2 separate regions of the Homo sapiens genome follow, and region 2 is linked to region 1. The links are contacts of gene promoters, found by promoter capture Hi-C in blood cells and fetal thymus (Javierre and others, 2016). All regions are on one chromosome and are shown on one strand. Each heading gives the region's core, a stretch centred on a gene start or on the middle of the fragment in contact. The rest is flanking DNA. Distances are from core to core; before and after follow the strand shown.

The links. The method cuts DNA at HindIII sites, captures the fragments that hold promoters and counts their contacts. A CHiCAGO score of 5 or more calls a contact.
Region 2: a fragment that was not itself captured here is called in contact with the fragment with the promoter of ATG4D in region 1 in 9 of 17 cell types (M0 macrophages, neutrophils, M1 macrophages and 6 more); the score reaches 9.1 in M0 macrophages.

What each region holds. Positions count from the first base shown.
Region 1 is chr19:10,539,192-10,546,940 of GRCh38, forward strand. It overlaps ATG4D (autophagy related 4D cysteine peptidase), which reads left to right and starts at 4,713. Exons shown (of 10, transcript NM_032885.6): 1 at 4,713-5,134; 2 at 5,592-5,675; 3 at 5,766-5,939; 4 at 7,648-7,749. The coding sequence starts at 4,900. RefSeq lists silencers at 4,429-4,478, 4,489-4,828, 4,879-5,058 and an enhancer at 5,104-5,699. The HindIII fragment of the contact is 8,842 bases long and covers 1-7,749 here.
Region 2 is chr19:10,676,458-10,684,206 of GRCh38, forward strand. ILF3 (interleukin enhancer binding factor 3) reads left to right here. Exons shown (of 20, transcript NM_017620.3): 5 at 706-853; 6 at 2,156-2,247; 7 at 2,640-2,735; 8 at 3,359-3,470; 9 at 3,889-3,986; 10 at 4,562-4,673; 11 at 4,762-4,872; 12 at 5,536-5,735; 13 at 6,080-6,247; 14 at 6,668-6,805; 15 at 6,909-7,085; 16 at 7,179-7,332; 17 at 7,460-7,513. Among named protein-coding and RNA genes, the nearest start is that of QTRT1, 21 kb to the right of the region's middle. The HindIII fragment of the contact is 7,906 bases long and covers 1-6,993 here.

The DNA.
Region 1 (7,749 bases), core at 3,463-5,962:
AGGAACTGAGGCAGAGAGTGGCGAGGTCCCTTATCTGAGCCATCTGGCTGCACAGTCTGTACTGAGTGCAGAATCCAAAGACCCCTGGGCCTACACTGGGCTCAAAGTGGTCAACTCCAATGGAATGCGGTTGTGTGTGCCCACGGTGCCAGCTACTCAGGAGGCTCAGGCAGGATCACTTGAGCCCAGGAGGTCAAGGCTGCCATGAGTCCTGATTGAACCACTGAACTCCAGCCTGGGTGACAGAGTGAGACTCTGTCTCGAAAATAATACACTTGGGCACAGTGGTTCATGCCTGTAATCCCAGCACTTTGAGAGGCTGAGGAGGGCAGATACCCTGAGGTCAGGCGTTCAAGACTAGCCTGGCCGACGTGGCGAAACCTGTCTCTACTAAAAATACAAAAAATTAGCTGGGTGTGGTGGCGCGTGCCTGTAATCCCAGCTACTCGGGAGGCTGAGGCAGGAGAATCACTTGAATCCATGAGGTCGAGGTTGCAGTGGGCCAAGATCGCGCCACTGTACTCCAGCCTGGGCAACAGAGTGAGACTCTGTCTCAAAAAAAAAAAAAAAGGGAATTGGGGTTGGACGCAATCTTGAGGGTGGGGCCCTCACACCATTCTCCTGCCTCAGTCTCCTGAGTAGCTGGGACTACAGGCGCCCGCCACCATACCTGGCTAATTTTTTGTGTTTCACTGTGTTAGCCAGGATGGTCTTTATCTCCTGACCTCGTGATCTGCCTGCCTCGGCCTCCCAAAGTGCTGGGATTACAGGCATGAGCCACCGAGCCCGGCTGAGACCAGGATGTCAAGGCTTCAGTGAGCCAAGATCATGATGCCACTGCACTCCAGTACTGGCAACAGAGTGAGACTGTGAGAAAAAAAAAAAAAAAAGAAAGGAAGGCAGGTGAGAGGATATAAGATAAGAAGAGAATCTCAGCTGGGCGCGGTGGCTCACGCCTGTAATCCCAGCACTTTGGGAGGCCAAGGCAGGCAGATCACCTGAGGTCGGGAGTTCGAGACCAGCCTGAGCAACATGGAGAAACCCTGTCTCTACCAAAAATACAAAAAATTAGCCAGGTGTGGTGGTGGGCGCCTGTAATCCCAGTTACTCGGGAGGCTGAGGCAGGAGAATCGCTTGAACCCGGGAGGCAGAGGTTGTGGTGAGCCGAGATTGCCATTGCACTCCAGCCTGGGCAAAAACTCCATCTAAAACAAAAAAACAAAACAAAACAAAAAATAGAAGAGAATCCCACCAAGAACCATGCTGGCACCCTGATCTGGGACTTTCTAGCCTCTAGAACTGTGAGAAGCAAAGGTGTGTTGTTTTAGCCCCCAAGGCTATGGTATTTGTCACAGCAGCCCAAGGGGATAAAGACAGTAAGGTTGTGATAACTACTCCCATGCGGCGGGGAGGGGGAAAAAGGCAGGGAAGAGAAGGAGACCAAGGATGGAGATGGGGGAGAATTTTGAGAGTGGTAATCTTCGTGTAGGGGTGATATTTGAATAAAGACTTGCGGCCGGGCACAGTGTCTCACGTCTGTAATCCCAGTACTTTGGGAGGCTGAGGTGGGTGGATTACTTGAGGTCAGGAGTTCGAGACCAGCCTGGCCAACATGGTGAAACCCCATTTCTACTAAAAATATAAAAATTAGCTGGGTGTGGTGGCACATGCCTGTAATCCCAGCTACTCAGGAGGCAGGAGGATCACTGGTGCCCAGAAGGTCGTGGTTGCAGTGAGTTATGATCGTGCCACTGCACTCCAGCCTGGGCAACAAAGTGAGACCCTGCCAAAAAAAAAAAAAAAGACCTGAAGGAGGTGACGGAGAGCCATGGTAAGAAACGTGGTCTGGGCAGAGGGAACAGCAAGTGCAAAGACTCTGAGGTGGCATTGGCTCTGTTGAGTTTGAGAAAGGGTGCACTTGGCTGGTTGCAGTGGCTCAAGCCTGTAATCCCAGCACTTTGGGAGGCCCAGGCGGGCAGATCACCTGAGGTCAGGAGTTCAAGACCAGCCTGGTCAACATGGTGAAACTCTGTCTCTACTAAAAATATAAAATTAGCCGGGTGTGGTGGCTCACACCTGTAATCCCAGCTACTCCAGAGGCTGAGGCAGGAGAATTGCTTGAACCTGGGAGGCGGAGGTTGCAGTGAGCTGAGATTGTGCCAGTGCACTCCAGCCTGGGCTACAGAGCAAGACTCTGTCTCAAAAAAATAAAATAAAATAAATCAATAAATTAATAAATTAATGAAAGAGAAAGGGGTCAATTGTGATTGAAGGCGACTGGGAGGAGAGGGGAAAAAAGGAAAGTCAGGGAGGTGACTGCCCCTTTTGTGCCTTCTCCTTCTTGGATCACACCCTCATTCAAATCTTTCTTACCTCCTTCAGAGAGCTGAGGACAGAGCCCCGGGGCTGGCCACTAGAGGCCACCCTCTCCATGGCTCACAGGGTCACTGCATTGTCATCATGCAGTTGGCTCTCACTGAGCCCCAACTGTTCCTCAAATACCACTCTAAGCACTTTACATTGGTAAGTTCAGCTCATTCCCATACATCTTTATGAGTTAGACACATTTAAAACTTTTTCCTGGCTGGGTGCAATCGCTCATGCCTGTAATCCCAGCACTTTGGGAGGCCGAGGCTGGCGGATCACCTCAGTCAGGAGTTCGAGACCAGCCTGGCCAACGTGGTGGAATCCTATCTCTACTAAAAATACAAAAATTAGCTGGGCGTGGTGGTGTGCGCCCGTAATCCCAGCTACTCAGGAGGCTGAGGCAGCAGAATTGCTTGAACCTGAGAGGTGGTGGTTGCAGTGAGCCAAGATCGCACTAGTGCACTCCAGCCTGGGCAACAAGAGCGAAACTCCATCTCAAAATAAATACATAAATAAATGAAAATAAAATAAAAAATAAAAATTGTCCCTGGCCAGGTGCAGTGGCTCATGTCTGTCATCCTAGAACTTTGGGAGGCTGAGGCTAATCGTTTCAGCCCAGGAGTTCAAGACTAGCCTGAGCAACACTGGGAGACTCTATCTCTACAGAAAAATTTTTAAAAATTAGCCAGGGGTGGCCAGGCACGGTGGCCCACGCCTGTAATCCCAGCACTTTGGGAGGCCGAGGTGGGCGGATCACGAGGTCAGGAGATCGAGACCATCCTGGCTAACACGATGAAACCTCGTCTCTACTAAAAATACAAAAAATCAGCCAGGCGTGGTGGCGGGCGCCTGTAGTCCCAGCTACTCGGGAGGCTGAGGCAAGAGAATGGTGTGAACCTGGGAGACAGAGCTTGCAGTGAGTCGAGATCGCGCCATTGCACTCCAACCTGGGCAACAGAACGAGACTCCGTCTCAAAAAAAAAAAAAAAAATTAGCCAGGGGTGGTGGCATGTGCCTATAGTCCTAGCTACTCAGGTGGCTGAGGCAGGAGACTTGCTTAAGCCTCGGCAGTTGAGACTGCAGTGAGCCATGATCAGGCCACTGCACTGTAGTCTGGATGACAGAGCAAGACCCTGTCTCAACAACAACAACCAAAATCTGTTTGGGCCTCGCAAGGTTAGAGAAAAAAAATTAAAAAATAAAATAAAATAAAATATTTTCCTGTAGTCTCAGCTACTTGGGAGGCTGAGGCAGGAGGATCACTTGAGCTAAGGAGTTTCAGGCCAGCCTGGGCAACATAGAGAGAACTTGTCTCTATAAAAAGTTAACTGATTACTTTTTAAAACAAAGAGGTTTTTTTTCAGCCTTATTGAGGTATAATAGACATATACAAAACCATGCAAATTTTAAGCGTACAATCTGATGAGTTTTCACACCTGTGAAGCCACTATTACAGTTAAGATACTGAATTTATCCACAGCTCCAAAAAATGTCTTCCTGCCTGAGGTGGTGGCTCACGCCTGTAATCCCAGCATTTGGGAGGCTGAGGCGGGAGGATCTCATGAAGCCAGGAGTTTGAGACCAGCCTAGACAACATAGCGAGACCCCTTATCTACAAATAAAATTTAAAAAATTAACCAGGCATGGTGGCTCCTGTCTGCGGTCTCAGCTACTCTGGAGGCTGAGGTTGGAGGATCAGAGTTGGAGGCTGCAGTGAGCTATGAAAGCGCCACTGCACTCCAGTCTGGACAACAGAGCCAGATGCTGTCTCGACAAAACAAACACTGAAAAAAACTTTCCTGGAGCACTTCATTCATCCCTCCCTCCCGCGCCTGCCTACCCCTGGATTTTTTTTCCCTGAGCATAATTCTCATGAAGATTCGTCTATGTTGTTGCGTGTATTCCAGCCCTATTTTGCACATGAGGAAACTGAGGCACAGAGAGGCGTGGCTTGCCCCGGAGGTCACACTAGTCGATTTGGTCCCAGGCCAGGGCGGGTTCTGGGTCGGCAGCCCGCGCAGGTGCACTCGGGAGGCGGGGCGGGCGCTGCAGGTGCGCAGTCAGTCTCACCTGGGCGCCTGCCAGGAGGTCAGTCCTGGGCCCTGGGGGGCAGGACTAGGGGCGGGGCCAGGGGCAGGGGTTCCCCAGCTCTGCTGCCTCCGATAAGGGCCTGAAGGGGCTGTCGCGCTCCTGGCGGTGTGATAAGGAGGGCGGGGGGAGGCCGCGGGAAGGCGTCGGGGTTTGAGGTCCCCGCCTGGCGACCCGGGATCGGGGCAGGAAAGGCGGCTGGGCGGGGAGAGGGCGGGGCGGGGCGTCTGGCTTGGCCACGCCCACCGTCATCCGGGGTCCTGGCCCGCTAAGATGGCGATGGCTGCGGTAGCAGCGGCGGCGGCTGTTGCCTGGCCCGGTACCCTGGGGACGGGGGCCGAGTAGCGCCTTCCCCGGGCCCCGTGAACCGGCTGCGGGTCGCCCTTGGGGGGCAGCGGCCGCAGCCCCCCACCTGGGCCCTCGGTCCGCCCTCCCGGCGCGTCCATGAACTCAGTGTCGCCGGCCGCCGCGCAGTACCGGAGCAGCAGCCCGGAGGACGCGCGCCGCCGGCCCGAGGCCCGCAGGCCGCGGGGTCCCAGAGGCCCAGACCCCAACGGCCTGGGGCCTTCCGGAGCCAGCGGCCCCGCTCTTGGCTCTCCCGGGGCTGGCCCGAGTGAGCCGGACGAAGTGGACAAGTTCAAGGCCAAGTTCCTGACAGCCTGGAACAACGTCAAGTACGGTGAGGAGGGGGCCCGGAGATCGTGGGGGTGTCGGGGGCCGTTGAGGAAAACCAGACCCCGGTCCTGCCAGTTATCCCACCCTTGTTCCCGTCCTGAGTCACCTGTGGGTCCCCTCCCTGCCCGGCCCAGGGTGGACCTGTGGCAGGTCCAATAGTGTTTTCAAGCCCCGCCCATTCCCCTGTGTGACCTTGGGCAAGATCCTTTGCTTCCTGGCGCCTCCGTTTTTGCCCCTCTCTGTAAAATGGGTACAATAATCAGAACTACCTTCCTTCATCCTGAATTGATGGTGGACACTCCTGTAGCTGTCACTGGGGGCCCCACCTCCGACGGAATCCCCGGAGCCACCCCGGAGATAGGAACTAGGATCGTGCCCATTTCACAGATGGGGGAATGGAAGCGCTGTTGCTGTCATGCAAGTGCTTCATCTCGCTGGGCGCTGCCCCTACGTCTCCCCAGGTTGGGTGGTTAAAAGCCGGACCAGCTTTAGCAAGATCTCCAGCATCCACCTCTGTGGCCGCCGCTACCGTTTCGAGGGCGAGGGTGAGCTGGTGGTTGGGACCAGGGCTGGGGGAGGCCTCTCCACGCCCGCCGGAGTGTCCCTGGTGGCAGCTGACAGACCCGCTCTTGTAGGTGACATACAGCGTTTCCAGCGGGACTTTGTGTCCCGCCTGTGGCTCACATACCGCCGGGACTTCCCGCCCCTTCCTGGGGGCTGCCTGACCTCGGACTGTGGCTGGGGGTGCATGTTACGCAGCGGCCAGATGATGCTGGCACAGGGCCTTCTGCTGCATTTCCTGCCCAGAGGTGAGCCATAGGGGGGAAGGGGTGCACTAGGAGTACAGGGTCAACTGCCATATCAGCAGTATTAGAATTACTTACCAACTAAGAGTTCAAAGTCACGTTAGAATTGTGTGTCAAGTAAGTTTTGGAGAGATGAGAGTTGTTTATAAGAGTTTCAGCCGGGGTTGGAAACGGTGGCTCATGCCTGTAATCCTAGCACTTTGGGAGGCTGAGGCGGATGGATCCCTTGCGGTCAGGAGTTCAAGACCAGCCTGGCCAATATGATGAAACCCCATCTCTACTAAAAATACAAAAATTAGCCGGTTGTGGTGGCACACGCCTGTAATCCCAGCTACTCCCGAGGCTGAGGTGGGAGAATCTCTTGAACCCAGGAGGCGGAGGTTACAGCAAGCCAAGATCGCACCACTGCACTCCAGCCTGGGCAACAGAGGGAGACTCTGTGTCAAAAATAAAAATAAAAAAAAGTTTCACCAGGCACGGTGGCTCATGCCTGTAATCCCAGCACTTTGGGAGGCTGAGGCTGGTGGATCATGAGGTCAGGAGTTCAAGACCAGCCTGGCCAAGATGGTGAAACCCCATCTCTACTAAAAATACAAAAATTAGCTGGGTGTGGTGGCAGGCACCTGTAATTTGGCAAGGTAAAGCAGAGAATTGCTTGAACCGGGGAGGCGGAGGTTGCAGTGAGCCGAGATCCGTGCCACTGCACTCCAGCCTGGGTGGCAGAGCGAGACTCAGTCTCAAAAAAAAAAAAAGAGTTTTGGCTGGGCACTGTGCTGCATGCTTGTAATCCCAGCTACCTGGGAGGCTGAGGTGGGAAGATTGCTCGTGCCCAGGTGTTCAAGTCTGCAGTGAACTATGATCCTGCCACTGCACTCCAACCCGAGTGACAGAATGAGACTCCAACAATAACAGGTCGAGTGTGGTGGCTCATGCCTGTAATCCCAGCACATTAGGAGGCTGAGGCAGGAGGATCGCTTGAGCATAGGCATTCGACACCAGCCTAGGCCACATGACAAGGCTCCTGTCTCTACAAAAAAATTTTAAAAATTAGCTGAGTGTGGTGGCATGTGCCTGTGATCCCAACTACTCAGGAGGCTGAGGCGGGAGAATCTGTTGAGCTCAGGATTTAGAGGCTGTAGTGAGACGTGATTGTGCCACTGCACTCCAGTCTGGATGACAGTGAGATCCTGTCTTTATTTATTTATTTTATTTATTATTATTATTATTTTTTTTTTTGAGACTGAGTCTTCCTCTATCATCCTGGCTGAAGTGCAGTGGAGAGATCTTGGCTCACTGCAACCTCTGCCTCCCAGGTTCAAGCGATTCTCCTGCCTCAGCCTCCTGAGTAGCTGGGATTACAGGTGCCCGCCACCACGCTTGTCTACTTTTTGTATATTTTTTTTTTTATCAGAGAAGGGGTTTCACCATGTTGGCCAGGCTGGTCTCGAACTCCAGGCCTCAAGTGATCCACCTGCCTTGGTCTCCCAAAGTGCTGAGATTACAGGCATGAGCCACCGCGTCTGGCTGAGATCCTGTCTTTAAGTAACAAAAAATAAATAAATAAATAAGGATAAGTATATGTTTCAGGAATATGTAAATTCTGTTGAATTACGGGGTTCAGGAGCATTCGCATTGTGTGCGGTGCATGTGTAGATGGGACCTCTGCCCCCCACACACTAGCACTGTTTGACTATGTGCTCCATTCCACCAGACTGGACATGGGCCGAGGGCATGGGCCTGGGCCCCCCTGAGCTGTCAGGGTCAGCCTCTCCCAGCCGGTACCATGGGCCTGCCCGCTGGATGCCCCCACGCT
Region 2 (7,749 bases), core at 1,791-4,290, 140 kb after region 1:
TTTTTGTATTTTTAGTAGAGATGGGATTTCACCCTGTTAGCCAGGATGGTCTCGATCTCCTGACCTTGTGATCCGCCCACCTCAGCCTCCTAAAGTGCTGGGATTACAGGCGTGAGCCACTGCACCTGGCCTAACATTGCTTTTTTGTTTGTTTGTTGTTTTGTTTTTGTTTTTGTTTTTGAGATAGAGTCTCGCTCTGTCGCCCAGGCTGGAGTGCAGTGGTGTGATCTCAGCTCACTGCAAGCTCCGCCTCCCGTGTTCACGCCATTCTCCTGCCTCAGCCTCCCGAGTAGCTGGGACTACAGGTGCCTGCTACCACGCCCGGCTAGTTTTTTGTATTTTTAGTAGAGATGGTGTTTCACCGGGTTATCCAGGATGGTCTCGATCTCCTGACCTCGTGATCCACTCACCTCGGACTCCCAAAGTGCTGGGATTGCAGGCATGAGCCACGGCTCCCAGCCCTACCATTGCATTTTTAAGCACCGTTTGGAAATCGCTTCTTTCACTAGTTATCCCTCTTTCAAGTACCCAAAACGTGGCCAAAGACCTGGCCAATTAGAGAGACCCTGACATCCCAGGTGAAATCACTTCCGGGTCATCATACTCAAGACGTTGGCCTTTCTGTTGCAGGAATAGGTGGAGCCAGATAAAATTGTTGATTGCTTTGAGGAGAAAGTGTTTTGAAAGTTGCATTTTATTTTTTAGGCTGTAACAGAAGACAAGTACGAAATACTGCAATCTGTCGACGATGCTGCGATTGTGATAAAAAACACAAAAGAGCCTCCATTGTCCCTGACCATCCACCTGACATCCCCTGTTGTCAGAGAAGAAATGGAGAAAGTATTAGCTGGAGGTAGGGAGGCCGAGACACGCCGGCAGGACTTTGAAAATGTGGTGTTCCCTCACTATTCAAATGTGCTATTCAGTTTTAGACTGCTTTGGTATACGGTGTAGATTGACCACCTTTACTCTGAGATCACATCTCCCGTTGGCTTTGAGTACTTGGGAGTTTGACAAAACAGTCGCACTAAAAGTGAGTAGCACTTTTCATAGGGGACTGCACCATTTTCCTTTATCTTCATCCTTGAACGTTCTCAAACATGAATGTGGAAGTTGCTTTTCTATGGAGCCATTCTCTGGCTGTGGAGAAGTGTCCCTGGTGATTCCATGGTTTTAAAGATGAGACAACCAGATGGTTTCTGCATGAGCACCACGTTGGAGTTTACCAACAGCCTGTGCTGCAGCTGAGCTGAGGGCCTCTTCGTTTGTCCTCTGTCATGGCTCTTTTATCATTTAAAGTGACAGAAGCACAAAGAGCTGATACAGAGTTTTGGATAAAGTTTTAAACTGTTGTCCAATTTTTCAAACCACATCATTGGACCTCACGCTAATAATGTGCTCGCAGTCCATGGCCCGCCGCTCGCATGCCTGTCTTCAGGCCTTATCCAAACCCCTGGTGTGCAGATGGCAGAGAAGATAAACGCTCTGCTTGGCCGCAGCATAGGCTGGCATAGCGCCCTTGTTGCTGTTTACCTTTGGTTCTCATAGCTGATTCCGACTACCAAAGCCCTTCTAGTTGATCAACGTAGGGACGCTGGACCTTTGACCAACAGGACTCTCTCTGTCAAGGGCTGGGGCTAGGGCAGTCCCGCCTGGTGGGCGGAGTTGGTCCCCTTTGCTGCAGATGCCTTGGGATGGCTGTTGTGTGATGCAGAGAGGGAGTTCATTTCCTCTCCCTCGGCCTTTTTAAATTTTTTCCTATTGAACATTTTAGCATAGCTAATTTATTGGGAGAACATGGGGAGGAGGCAAGGGAAGAGGATTAGAAGATAGGCTCCACCTATCTCTCCCCTCCCTCATGAGATTATTCCTTTTAGAATAACTCCCCACTTTTGTTTTTATGTTTGTTTTATTTTTTCTTTTTCTTTCTTTTTTCTTTTTCTTTTTATTTTTGGAGGGGGCCTCCAATTTTTACAATTTCCTCACAGGGCAGAGTTGAATGTGCTCTAGTTTCTCCTTCCCTGGTCCAGGGTGGAGATGAATTCAGCTTCTGGGAAACTCAGCTGCCCTTTAGAAAGCTGCCACATCCCCTTTCCACCTGACAGAAACCCCTTGGTCAAACTGTGCCTTGTCTTCTTATTCCATCCATGAATAGAAACGCTATCAGTCAACGACCCCCCGGACGTTCTGGACAGGCAGAAATGCCTTGCTGCCTTGGCGTCCCTCCGACACGCCAAGTGGTTCCAGGTTTGCATTTTGTTCTTCTATTTGTCTTTTGGTAGAGAATTCCTAAGTTTTAACTTGGCTAACTGTCACCATAAAGATTCCTTAACATTGACGATAGCCGTGCCGAGCTTAGCACCTGCAGCTGCGCAGGTCCTAAAGGAGTGCACCTCAACAAATTCGACCCCAAAAGAGGCTGAGACTGAGTTGGTGGGCTGCTGCTGCTGCTGCTGCTTTGTGTTAAGAGTAACACTCTCTTGTACACGTAGTGACATTGCGGCTGGCCACAGCCTTGGTGGTCGCCAGTGTTGACTGTTTACCCTTGGCAAAGCAGCAACCTGACACTTGTGTCGTTCATGTTGACTTGTGCCCTGGGCGGTGCCTCAGACTGAAGAGCCTGTGTTTTGTTCCCCTAGGCCAGAGCCAACGGGCTGAAGTCTTGTGTCATTGTGATCCGGGTCTTGAGGGACCTGTGCACTCGCGTGCCCACCTGGGGTCCCCTCCGAGGCTGGGTAAGGCATGTTGCTGTGGCTACTGGGGGTGGTGTGTGCAGAGTCTTTTGGATATCCCAGGAACACTTGATGGTCACGGGGCAGGAGTGGCCTCTTGACGCGTGGCTGGTGTGTACTCTCCAGAGCTGCCTGTGGAGCTGCTCCTGCTTGCCACACCTGGGGTTGGGGTTGGGGCAGTGTGGGTCGGGGCCCTCTGCAGGGTCGCACAGCTCAATCCCAGGAGTGGGGGCTGACCAGGAGGTGGGAATGATCCCTCTGGGAAGGTTTGTAGATAGTCTCACGCAGGACCAGTTTTTGGCAGTTGCACCCTTTTTTTTTTCAGCTTGCAGTTGAGGTGGTTTTTATATTTGTAAATAAATGGTTAGATTTTAAGTAAGAAGTACTACATCATAACCTTAGCTTGGTCTCTGAGCTCACACAGCCTGCTAGGATGTCATGTCTGGTCCTTGAAGGCCCCTGTCCTAGATGCCCTGGCTCAGGCTTAGCCCTGAGGCTTTGACTTTACCCGACTGGTTGGCTATGAGTCCCACGTGTGCCCCGACCCACTCATGCAGTGACAGCTCCCCAGTGGCGGCCGGCCCCATCCTGTAGGCTCTTGGCTCACTGTCCCTCTTCCCTTTCAGCCTCTCGAGCTCCTGTGTGAGAAATCCATTGGCACGGCCAACAGACCGATGGGTGCTGGCGAGGCCCTGCGGAGAGTGCTGGAGTGCCTGGCGTCGGGCATCGTGATGCCAGGTTGGGGCCTTGTGCTTTGCAGGTTGCAGGGAAAGGACAGGGTTCCAGGCCGCCTCCTGGCGGGTACACTGACTGGGTTAGGACAGCAGCAGCCCCGTGTCCACCCCCTAGAGCTGAAGCATGTGACTACCCTCTGGCACCATCATATCCAGCCCTGACCGGGTCCGCAGCCGTCATTCAGAGGGCGGATCCGGGGCAGTGGTGACCCACTCCCACGTGACTTTCTTGCTCTGAGACACTTGTGAATTATTTCTGTCAAGGGCTGGACGCCGAGTGGGTCACCGAGCTAGGCATGTTTTCCAGAGCTGGGTGTGGATGGGGCGCGGGGGGTAACACACCTAGTTCCCTCAGCCAGCACACCTCTTCAGAGATGCTAAAAGATAATCCTCTGCATATCTTCCTTGTTTCCTGCCTTCAGATGGTTCTGGCATTTATGACCCTTGTGAAAAAGAAGCCACTGATGCTATTGGGCATCTAGACAGACAGCAACGGGAAGATATCACACAGAGTGCGCAGGTATAGTCATCGCCATTGCCAACGTGCGCCCTGACCCAGTCTGTAATCACTGGCTTCCAGTTCCATTACTGGGTATTCCCAGGGTAGCCCCTGGACTCGTAGGCTCAGGTCGGGGACTGAAGGCAAAAGGATTGTGTCTGATACAGGGCGCCCCAATCTGGGCTGCTTCTTTCCCCTGGTGCCATGCGTGGTTTTCATCTGCCCCCTCCCTTGGCTTGCTCGAGTGCCGTTTTCAGACACTGTGAGTGGTGCTGGGAGATGTGTTTGCTGTGCGGACTGCTCCGGGGGGACCTTCCCCTGCAGGCCCCCACATGGCTCCGTGTGGCAACCAGTCCCCAGGTTGGGGTCTCCTGTATTCCTTTGGAAGGGGGGTGGTCACAGGCTGGCCTTCCCCCACAGCAAGGCTGGGCTTGAGCAGTCAGGCTCTCCCCTGGCTGGTGGGGGACCCCTTGCTGTCGTAAGGGAGACCATTAGCAGCCCTTCAGCTCTGCCCCTCCTCAGAAGGCAGTAGTGAGCACACACTCCATGGCCGGGAGCACAGGGCAGCTGAGTCAGAGCCTCTTCCCCTTCTCCAGCACGCACTGCGGCTCGCTGCCTTCGGCCAGCTCCATAAAGTCCTAGGCATGGACCCTCTGCCTTCCAAGATGCCCAAGAAACCAAAGAATGAAAACCCAGTGGACTACACCGGTAAGCCTGCGGCGGTTGCCTGATGGCTGGGGCTCCAGGAAGAGTCACCATCTGCATCTCCCAGCCATGCCCTGGTCTCTCCTTGCAGTTCAGATCCCACCAAGCACCACCTATGCCATTACGCCCATGAAACGCCCAATGGAGGAGGACGGGGAGGAGAAGTCGCCCAGCAAAAAGAAGAAGAAGATTCAGAAGAAAGGTACAGGCCGGGCGCGGTGGCTCACGCCTGTAATCCCAGCACTTTGGGAGGCCGAGGCGGGAGAATCGCTTGAGCTCAGGAGTTTTGAGACCATCAGCCTGGGCAACATGGCGAAACCCCGTCTCTACAAAAAATACAAAAATTAGCTGGGTGTGGTGGCGCACCTGTAGTGCCAGCTACTTGGGAGGCTGAGATGGGAGGATGGCTTGAGCCTGGGAGGCGGAGGTTGCAGTGAGCAACTGTACTCCAGCCTGGGCAACAGAGCGAGACCTTGCTTAAAATCAGTGTTGAAAAATTTTAGAAGCTAAATAGGTAAAAAAGCAGGAAGGTGCAGACCTCCACTAGTGCTGCTGCTTTATCCATCTGGTCCTGTGAAGGCTCACCCTGAAGCTATGGGATGGCTGCTTTTGTTTCATTTTTCTCACTTGTGATTTCTGAGTCCTTTTAACAATGATGAGGCATGATTGGGGATGTGGAAGATGAGTAGGATGGTGGTGCTACAGCTGGAGGCCACAGGAGAGGTGCAAGCTGGGCTCAGTTTGTGTGGCTGCCCCACCCACTGTGTTACGCCACAGAGGCAGCCCTGGGGGTTAGGATTGGCAGAGCTCTCGTGGAGACCTGCCATCGTGCTGATCCAGAGCCACCTTGCTATTCTCTCTGTAGAGGAGAAGGCAGAGCCCCCCCAGGCTATGAATGCCCTGATGCGGTTGAACCAGCTGAAGCCAGGGCTGCAGTACAAGCTGGTGTCCCAGACTGGGCCCGTCCATGCCCCCATCTTTACCATGTCTGTGGAGGTTGATGGCAATTCATTCGAGGCCTCTGGGCCCTCCAAAAAGACGGCCAAGCTGCACGTGGCCGTTAAGGTGAGTGTGGCCAGCATCACTGTCTTCTAATAGCAGAACCATGGTCTTTGTTTTGGGCCCCTTCTGAGCCATTGTCTCTCAGGGAGGGCATGTAGATTCTAAAAATACACATGGTTAGATGGCGAGTATTTGCCAAGTCACGTGGCAAGAACGCCTTCCCACTGTGGCTGGCAGGCAGAGGGGTCCCCAAACATGATTGGGGCATTAGGGCCTCCTGGGAGCAGGAGCTGAAAGGAAACAGCCCTCCTCCAGATGGCTTCCCGGGTGGGTGCCTGTAGGCCATGAGGAGGCCCTGCATGCAGCCCTGCTTCACTGGGACCTTGGGGGTCTTGCCACCTCTGCAGGTGTTACAGGACATGGGCTTGCCGACGGGTGCTGAAGGCAGGGACTCGAGCAAGGGGGAGGACTCGGCTGAGGAGACCGAGGCGAAGCCAGCAGTGGTGGCCCCTGCCCCAGTGGTAGAAGCTGTCTCCACCCCTAGTGCGGCCTTTCCCTCAGATGCCACTGCCGAGGTGAGCACATGGTGGGCGCTGGGAGTGACTGCCTGGACAGAGCAGGCAGCCATGTGTCCTGTCAGTGAGGTGGTTACTGGTCCTTGTTAATTTGCCCCAAAAAGTGGACCTTTCAGGCCAGAAGTCCGCACAGGAAGCTGGGTGCTGCCCTCCGAGCCGTGTCGGGGAGGGCCTTGTGGATGTTGTCCCAGCATCCTATAGGCTACACTGGGGTGGCCTTGGGTTGATAACGTGCTGTTCAGAGGGGAGGCACAGGAAGGGGGCACATTGCTGGAAGGCCCTCACTAGAGTCAGTGGAGACTCTGGCAAGGGCTGGCAGTGTATGAAGAGCAGAGGCCCTGCCTCAGTCCTGCCACTCCTCCCATGTGACTGGAATGCCCATAGCTGAGTTTGTCGGTCTTCTTTTCTGTTTTCCCTGAGAACGTAAAACAGCAGGGGCCGATCCTGACAAAGCACGGCAAGAACCCAGTCATGGAGCTGAACGAGAAGAGGCGTGGGCTCAAGTACGAGCTCATCTCCGAGACCGGGGGCAGCCACGACAAGCGCTTCGTCATGGAGGTGCGCAGCCTGAAGCTGCCTGCTGGGGCAGTCCCATGGGGAGGCCTGGGGTCCCCCTGCCCCTGGAGGGAGGCACTGAGTCATCTCCATCTGCACTTTCCAGGTCGAAGTGGATGGACAGAAGTTCCAAGGTGCTGGTTCCAACAAAAAGGTGGCGAAGGCCTACGCTGCTCTTGCTGCCCTAGAAAAGCTTTTCCCTGACACCCCTCTCGCCCTTGATGCCAACAAAAAGAAGAGAGCCCCAGTACCCGTCAGAGGGGGACCGAAATTTGCTGCTAAGGTGAGCAGTGGCCCTTGAACCTCCTTGCCCAGGCATGGGTTCTTCTGCAATGTGAGCACGAAGGGAATGTCACTTCCCTGTGTTCTCTTCTAGCCACATAACCCTGGCTTCGGCATGGGAGGCCCCATGCACAACGAAGTGCCCCCACCCCCCAACCTTCGAGGGCGGGGAAGAGGCGGGAGCATCCGGGGACGAGGGCGCGGGCGAGGATTTGGTGGCGCCAACCATGGAGGCTACATGAATGCCGGTAAGGGCCCTCATACTGCACTGTCCCCGCCTTCCCCACGTGCATGCTCTGGGAACAAATGTGTGGGGCTCCTGGGGTGGGCCGGAGACACTGCTGGACCCCGGTAACCCTGTCTTTCCCTTTCCAGGTGCTGGGTATGGAAGCTATGGGTACGGAGGCAACTCGGCGACAGCAGGCTACAGTAAGTGTGCGTTTCTGTCTGTCTGACCTGGGAAGCAGCTGCAGTGTAGCGTCTGGGCCTGAGTTAGCAAAGGGTGGCCAGAGCAGCCTCGAGGAGGCTGTAGAAGGGGCACACACCTTTTTGCGGTGATTAGGTCAGACGGCCCTCGACCCCCACCCCTTCCCGGCCCCACAGTGGGATTGATTGTGTTAATACACGAACTCGTGTAACTGCAAAGTTCCTTAAAAGTTAGAATT